Linked DNA regions of Homo sapiens: region 1 is linked to region 2. The links are contacts of gene promoters, found by promoter capture Hi-C in blood cells and fetal thymus (Javierre and others, 2016). All regions are on one chromosome and are shown on one strand. The core of a region is centred on a gene start or on the middle of the fragment in contact, and the rest is flanking DNA. Distances in the headings are between cores, read along the strand shown. Region 1 holds the start of RNF44 (ring finger protein 44). Region 2 holds the start of DDX41 (DEAD-box helicase 41).

Region 1 (3,674 bases), core at 167-2,666, 980 kb before region 2:
AAGCACCTACCCTGACCTTGGTCTAAGAGCCCCAGGGATCTGTTTGCAGGAAGAGACACTCCCTTTTGCAGATAAAAACAAAGTCAGACCCTGGGGGCATGAGCAGACTCAGCCAGGAAGAGAAGCCCCCCTTCCTACTTCCCCACACCCCACCCGAAACAAGCAGGCTCTGCCCAGCGCAAGCAGAGCTTCCCAACGTGTGGTGCCTGGAGGCCGCTGAGGGCCGGACCACCAGACTAGGAGAGAAGACTCCCTAGTGACCTTGGTCAAGGAAATCCCTTTGCTTCTGAGCGCCTCAGTTGGCACAGCTATAAAATGGGGGTGGAAATCTTTCCTTCCCACAGCGCCCAAATAAAACCAGAAGAGTCCAGAAGAAACCAGGTGGTCACACTAGTGGGGGAGGAAACCAGGGTCCTGGGGAAGGGGGGGCTCCCCAACGCGGGCCAAGTGCACGCTGTGGGGCTCTGGGAAGCTTACCCAGCCACCCCTCCCCAGGCATAGTGCTGGGGGGCCGAGGCGCGGACACAGCCCCGAGAGGGGCCTCCCTCGTCCGCTTCCTACTCTTTTGCGCCGCTCTCGGAGGGACACCGGGGGCGGGAGGCGAGACTGCAGCGCAGGGGCCAGAACGCTGCGACTTTAAGAGCCGAGGATCCCGGACCATGTGCTCGGCGTGAGACAAAAGCAACAACAAAGGAAGTGGCGGCCGCAGGGGGAGGGGGGCGGCTCCTTCCTCTCCAACCGCAGCGCTCAGCTGCAGGAGAGGGGAGATACGGCCCGGCCACGGGGGGCCTTGGGGGGGGTTCCTGATCCCTGGGGTCTCGCTGCCCGCAGTCTGGACCGCCCGTGATTAACCCCTACGGAGCCACCTAGATCACGGCCCCCATTCCCAGGGGAGGGGAACAGAAGGTCCATGGGTGGGGGAATAGGAAGTTGGGGGCCCTGGCACCGACTCACCTTTGGCCGCCCGGCCACACGTTGACTCCTTTGTTCCCGATCTAGGACGGCCAAACTGGGCAGGGGGCGGGGGAGGGGGGGGGTGCCTGTCTGGATCCTTTAAGAGCTCCCGCCCTGCGGAACAATGTGCTCCCCTCCCCACCCCCGGGTCCGGGGGCAGCCCGGCTCCTTCCGGGGCCTCTCTCTTTGTTGTCCGCCCGACGGCGTCTGCCTCGCGAGGCCCACGCGCGATCAGTCTCTCTCGGCCCAGGCCCTCAGGGAGCGGGAGGCGGCGCAGGACGCAGCTGGGTCTGCGCGGCAGCCGGCGGCTGGCCCTTTAAGAACTGTCCGCGGCGGCAGCGGAATGTAACAAACCCCACATTTGATTCACAACATTCGAAGCGGCGGGGTCGCGCGCCAGACGGGAGGGGGCTCGCGGGGGCGCGCCGGGAGGCTCCGGCAAACAGTAGCCCGCTGCAAGCCCGCAGGGGCCCCGCCCCGCGCCGGGAGCTCCGCCCTGAGAGCCAATCACTCGCCGCGACCACGCACGTGACTAGTGGGCCACCATCTTGAATTTTTTTAACCTCCTCCTCGCCCCCACCTTCGCACTTAAAGGGACCGCAGCCATAGTCAAAAGCAAGGGGCGGGGCCGCATATCCTGACATAAAGATGGGGAGACCCCAGGGTGGGCAAAACCGATCGGCTGCAACTCGAACTTGCTATGCAAACTCGCTAACTACTCGCGCCTCTGAGGCTCAGTTTCCCTGCCGAAGAAATGGGTCCCGCCAGGAGAACCGGCAGTACGGACTTACTGTGTCATGGTCCCCTCCTCGGGGACAGGGTGCCGCCTGAGATACTGAAGTGCAATGGGTCTGACCTCTGACGGGGCGAGAGCGGCCCAAGTGGTTATGCTGGCTCTAACAACCCTGGGCCGGCCACCTTCCCGGAGATGACGTCACCCCCAAGAGCTGCAGCACCGCGCTGACATCATGGCCCGGCCGCCCCACTTCTCCTTGTTTATACTACACGGCGTCTTTAAAAAGCTGGTACGGCCCAGATTGCCCAACAGACCAATGGCGGACCACCCATGCAAACGAGCTAACGTCTGCCGGGCAAGGAGATTGGCCCTGCTCGCGCTGACGTCACAGAGACATTTAACCGCCACGCCCCCAGCGTGGCGGTGGAGGAAGAGAGGCGGGGAACAGGTTGTAGTTTAAAGCAAAAGTGCAGGCGCTGGGCGCTCTAGCTGCTAGGCTGGGCTTGAGAGTTTGGTGTCCCCGCGGAGACCTCCCTAGCCAGGGAAACTGGGAACTAAGCCCAGTGAAGCGTCTATACTTTAGTTTTCTATTCCTCTCAGCAGCTATGAGACGGAGGGATTACTATAGCCAGTTCATTTTACAGATGGGGAAAGTGAGGGCCTTCCCTTACTCCAGATCACACAACTAGAAGTGTGGCGGAGCAGGAGTGTGAACCTAATCCAAAGCCGAGCCTCGTTCTCCTTTGCCTCGAAGCCCACCCACCCGGGCAAAATTTATACAAAATGGGGTATTACCTCCACCACAATTATATAAGCAGAAAATCAGTAATTTGCTAAATATCCAAGAGCTGGAACAGGTCGAATAATGAATATTGGGTGCATGCATATAATCAATAACGACTCTTGGGCAGTTACCACAAAGAGGCAGCTGGAGGCGACACGGGGCTATCTCCAAGACAGCCATAAACAAGGCGCCAATGCAAAATGTTAACATCTGTTAACCTGTGTGGTGGGCCATGGGGCAGGGGGATGGGGGGCTCATTTTCTATGCTGCTTTGGTATATTTCGTAATCCTAAATTTTATATAAAAATTGAAACCAAGATGCTGAACAGTTCTAACAGTATGTATCAGGTTTCTTTAATTGGACATATGCCACATCTGCATATATTTCTGGAAGGGTATACAGGAAACTGATTAACAATTGTCCTTAGGGAGAACTGGAAGGGAGAAGTTGGGTCAGTAGGATAGACTATTGTATATATTGCACATTAGCTCTTTTTTAAAAACCCTATGCATTATAACCCACTGAAATTTTTAAAGAAAGCTATTATAAAGACTATGTCTTAAGTCTTTTAAGCCAGAAAACCTTTTGTTCCCTTAGAATCAGAAACCCCCTTTCAGCTTGGGGAACAGACATGTTTATGGCAATGTTTAGACCAGCAATGATCGTATCACTGTGCAACACAATGACTGAAGATGGAACTGAGCCGGCTGTCGGCAGATCTCTAAGCAACACAAGAGCAAGGTCATGATGCAGTGCTATCGATGCTCCCTGGAACGCCAAACTCTATCCATCACAGTTAAAAATTACATGTGCATGAGAATAAGTGTGGCTATACAAGGTTATGTCTTTACCCAGTTCCTTATCATCAACTGTTCCTTTACCTCCAATGTCTCCTTCAACCTTTTGTTTTCCCCACCACATAAAAGCAATTTGAAAACCCTCCCCATGGCCGGGCACGGTGGCTCACGCCTGTAATCCCAGCACTTTGGGAGATCCAGGCGGGCAGATCACAAGGTCAGGAGTTTGAGACCAGCCTGACCAACATGGTGAAACCCTGTCTCCACAAAAAATACAAAAATTAGCTGGGCATGGTGGCATGCACTTGTAGTCCCAGCCACTTAGGAGGCTGAGGCAGGAGAATCGCTTGAACATGGGAAGTGGAGGTTGCAGTGAGCTGAGATTGCGCCACTGCACTCCAG
Region 2 (3,892 bases), core at 826-3,325:
TGGCCTGCCCTCCAGGCCAGCCTATCTTACCGAGGGGCAGATGATGAGTCCATAGGGCCCCTCGCGCTTTGAGAAGGGTAACCTCTTCTCTTGTTCCAGGCAGAACATGATGACGGGCAACGTGAACACCAGTGTCTTGCCTGAACCCGTGAAAGCGATGCCTATCATGTCACGGCCAGATAGACTGTTGGGAGAGGATGACCCGAGGGCCAATTTCAACAGAAGATGAAGGACACCTAGCCATTGCTCCTCCCTGTTCCAGCCCTCCTCAAGGACCCCAGGTCCACAGTCCACACTCACATGGTGGGGATGCCCTGGATCTGAATGGGTGTTGGGTGGTGAATGCCTTTCTTCTTCAGGCCTCTCAGGATGGCTATGAAAACCAACCGACATCGTCTTCATGACTCACAGGTACTTTCTCAGAGCCCCAAAGCCTGTAAAACTGGCACTACCCCTACAAGTTGCAGATGATGAAACTGAGGCTCAGAGAGAGAGAGAGAGAGTGGAAAAAAAAAAAGAAAAAAAGAGACTTGTCCAAGGCCCACAGGCTAGGTGCAGCCAGGATTTGTACCCAGTGTCTATGCCCAATGGCACTTTCCTCCTGAAGCTTTGTAACAGCAGAGAACAATGAACACGTACAGCTGAGGCAACAAGGAACCTAAAGAAACTCCTCCTCAAATCCCTCCAGCCCCAGTGACTGGATCCAATGCAGATGTGGCTGAGCTCAGTGGGAGCCAGGACATAACCTCACAGGCATTTGATTATAAAAGTGTGGTATCTCTCTCCAGCCCCTGACTACCTGCAGGAAACTTCATTTCCTTGAAGCTCTTGATGGGTGGTGGGATACCGTCTCCCTCCACCAGGATGTGGTATTTCTTCCGCACGCGCTCATGTCGCTCTTCAGACATGCTCAGAACATAACGGGGTGGAGTCCAGCTGTGGATGGGTAACAGGGATCAAGAGAGCCCTGGGAATAGCTGGCCTGGGAGCATCCCTGCATGTACCATCCTAAGCAAGGGCAACTGCAGACTGTACAGACATACCTGGTTTTGATGGGGTCATCATACGTAATGCCCTTAGCCATCTCCTTCACTGACATCAATGCTGAAGAGAGAGACATGGCTCAGGGCTGGCTCCTGCTTCTGAGAAGCCAGATCCCTTGAGATATAACATGCCTGGGGCTGGGAGGAGAAGACTCAGTCCACCTTCTCACTATCCTGGCTACAACCATACCTCGGCCCTCGGCAACACTCTCCAGGATCTTCTCTTCTTCCTTCAGCTGCTTCTCCTTGGCAGACTCTTTGCGCGCTGAGAAAAGAAGTGGAAGATGTCAGACAGATACCAAAACGGTGTACCAGGCTCAGCTTCTTCTTTCTCGCCCAGGCAGTGCTGCCCAGCCCACCTTCAGCCTTCTCTTTAAGGTGCTGGTGCTGATCCAGGAGGCTGACGTTGGACTGAGGGCCTAGCGGGATGTCGTCCTCATCTCCCCGGGGTTCACTACCGCTGTCCTGCTGCTCTTCCTCCGCAGCTCCCTTGCGTCTTCGCTGCAGCAGCTTCTGGAGCTGAGGTTCCACCCGGGATCCACAGATAGGATGGGCATGGAGTCCACAAGGTCAGCGTCAGGATCCTGGCTTTGGGGCGAGGATCCTGTGCCCGAGGCGCAAAGCTGCCCTACCCCTCAGATCAAGCCGTCGGTCCCTCGTTTGTCTGGGGGCCGCGCCCTGGTGTACTGAAGCTCACTCCTCAGACTGCCCTCCTCCCCACGGAGGCCGAGGCCACGCCCGCCCCCTGCGACCCCGCGGTCACGGCCCCATCCCTCCCCGGACGCGTGCCCCTCACCAGTAGCTGCCGGCGCTGCCGTAACGGCACATAGGGCACGTAGTCCTCGTCGTCCTCATCTTCCGCCTCGGAGCGGCTTCCTCCGGCAGGCACCTCGTCGGTGCGAGCCCGCTGCAAGCACACGCCAGTCAGGCACGGCCTGCTCCCCTCTTCACGCCCGCTCCCACACGCGCGGGGTCTCGCCTCTCTCCTACCTTCCGTTCGGGTTCCGACTCCTCCATTCTTTGCTGCACGCATGCGCGCCACGGCGAAACCCCGCCTCATCCTTGCGTGAGACCCAATCCGATGTGAAGAGGCGAACGACGGCGCGTAGGAACGACCTCGGAGTTCCGGATCGCGCAGAGGGACAAATTTGTTCCGGAGATACTATCGCACGGCGAGGCATGGACGCTTTCATGGGTGGTTACGCGACAGTTGCCAGGACCGAGGGCGAAACCGGCTGCAAGGCATTGTGGGACATTGGAGGACTTGGAATATGCGCTAGAAGGCTCAATCCAAGCCCATTGGAAGAGGAAGACGTACGCAGCGGAGACAGCTGATCCGGAGTCGGGGCGGCCTGCCAGGTGCCCAACCTCTCCCAGAGCATGGCGTCTTGGGCACGCCCCTGCCGGCGGACAGTGCGTCCTCTAGGGCCGGGAGCTGCGGGCCGAGTTCGCGTGGGCCCTGCGCTTTCATCCCTGCCGGGGACGCCGGGGTTGCGGGATAAACCGCTCGACACACCCTGCCTCCCTGACTGCGCCTGTGTGACACATACGTTCACTGGTGGGGCACGCATCAGATACGGATGGCAGTGGTTTTGAAGTGGGAGGCCCTGTATAAATGTAAACGGTTATTACTGTAAATGCTCTAACAGAGCTGCCTGGGGGGCGCTTCCAGGGAAGCGTGGCAATCTCAGGCCGGGAGAGGAGAGGCGTCCTGGGCCAGGGCGCTGCAGGAATACAGGTCTGGCGATGTGCAAGTACACAGATTCACCAGGCAACAGCATTGCGGCAAGGGTGGGATGGGGAAGCCAGACCTAAGGCCAGAAAAGGAGATTGCGACCAGAGCATGCCTGCTGTGACTGTCAGAGTAAGTGGTTTCAACTTTATTAGAGACTTCTAAGGAATGACTTGGTCAGCTCTGTGCTTTCTTGCCTTCAAGAGTGTGTGCTGGGCGCTGGCACTGCGCTCAAGCAGATGATAATCAAGACACATACCTGGTGTGCGAGGAGCTTATGTAGATTGAGACTAGAAATATAGACAGATAACTGGTCTTAAAGAGAAAGATCCTAAGACAAGGTACCGCTTTTCGAAGTGTCATAGTTTTCACAGTACAATGGCCTCTTAGCTGGGATGTGAAGGATACACAGGAATTCATGAAGTCTTCTTTAGTAAAGAAAGCTTAGGCTGGGCACAGTGGCTCATTCCTGTAATCCCAGCTCTCTGGGAGGCCAAGGCAGGAGGATCGCTTGAAGCCAGGAGTTCAAGACCAGCTTGGACAACATAGCAAGACCCCATCTCTATAAAAAAAATAAGCTGGTGCTTACTGCCAGTCCCATGGTGGGTCTCAACCTGGGAGGGATGGAGGAGGACATGGTTTCTGGTCCTGCTCACAACACCCAAATACATGGCAATCTCAGGCCGGGAGAGGAGAGGCGTCCTGGGCCAGGGCGCTGCAGGAATACAGGTCTGGCGATGTGCAAGTACACAGATTCACTAGGCAACAGCATTGCGGCAAGGGTGGGATGGGGAAGCCAGACCTAAGGCCAGAAAAGGAGATTGCGACCAGAGCATGCCTGCTGTGACTGTCAGAGTAAGTGGTTTCAACTTTATTAGAGACTTCTAAGGAATGACTTGGTCAGCTCTGTGCTTTCTTGCCTTCAAGAGTGTGTGCTGGGCGCTGGCACTGCGCTCAAGCAGATGATAATCAAGACACATACCTGGTGTGCGAGGAGCTTATGTAGATTGAGACTAGAAATATAGACAGATAACTGGTCTTAAAGAGAAAGATCCTAAGACAAGGTACCGCTTTTCGAAGTGTCATAGTTTTCACAGTACAATGGCCTCTTAGCTGG

What was found. The method cuts DNA at HindIII sites, captures the fragments that hold promoters and counts their contacts. A CHiCAGO score of 5 or more calls a contact.
Region 1: a contact is called between the fragment with the promoter of RNF44 here and the fragment with the promoter of DDX41 in region 2, in 1 of 17 cell types (fetal thymus). The highest score is 5.5, in fetal thymus.

What each region holds. Positions count from the first base shown.
Region 1 is chr5:176,535,986-176,539,659 of GRCh38, forward strand. RNF44 (ring finger protein 44) reads right to left here and starts at 1,417. Exons shown (of 11, transcript NM_014901.5): 1 at 955-1,417. It overlaps LOC124901143 (a long non-coding RNA gene), which reads left to right and starts at 1,944. Exons shown (of 2, transcript XR_007059071.1): 1 at 1,944-2,138; 2 at 3,073-3,312. RefSeq lists silencers at 911-1,100, 1,181-1,440 and enhancers at 1,551-1,990, 2,231-2,410. The HindIII fragment of the contact is 3,937 bases long and covers 471-3,674 here.
Region 2 is chr5:177,514,886-177,518,777 of GRCh38, forward strand. It overlaps DDX41 (DEAD-box helicase 41), which reads right to left and starts at 2,076. Exons shown (of 17, transcript NM_016222.4): 1 at 2,034-2,076; 2 at 1,840-1,950; 3 at 1,403-1,562; 4 at 1,234-1,308; 5 at 1,044-1,104; 6 at 800-936; 7 at 301-373; 8 at 31-184. The coding sequence starts at 2,060. RefSeq lists enhancers at 1,318-2,142, 2,171-2,440. The HindIII fragment of the contact is 2,611 bases long and covers 606-3,216 here.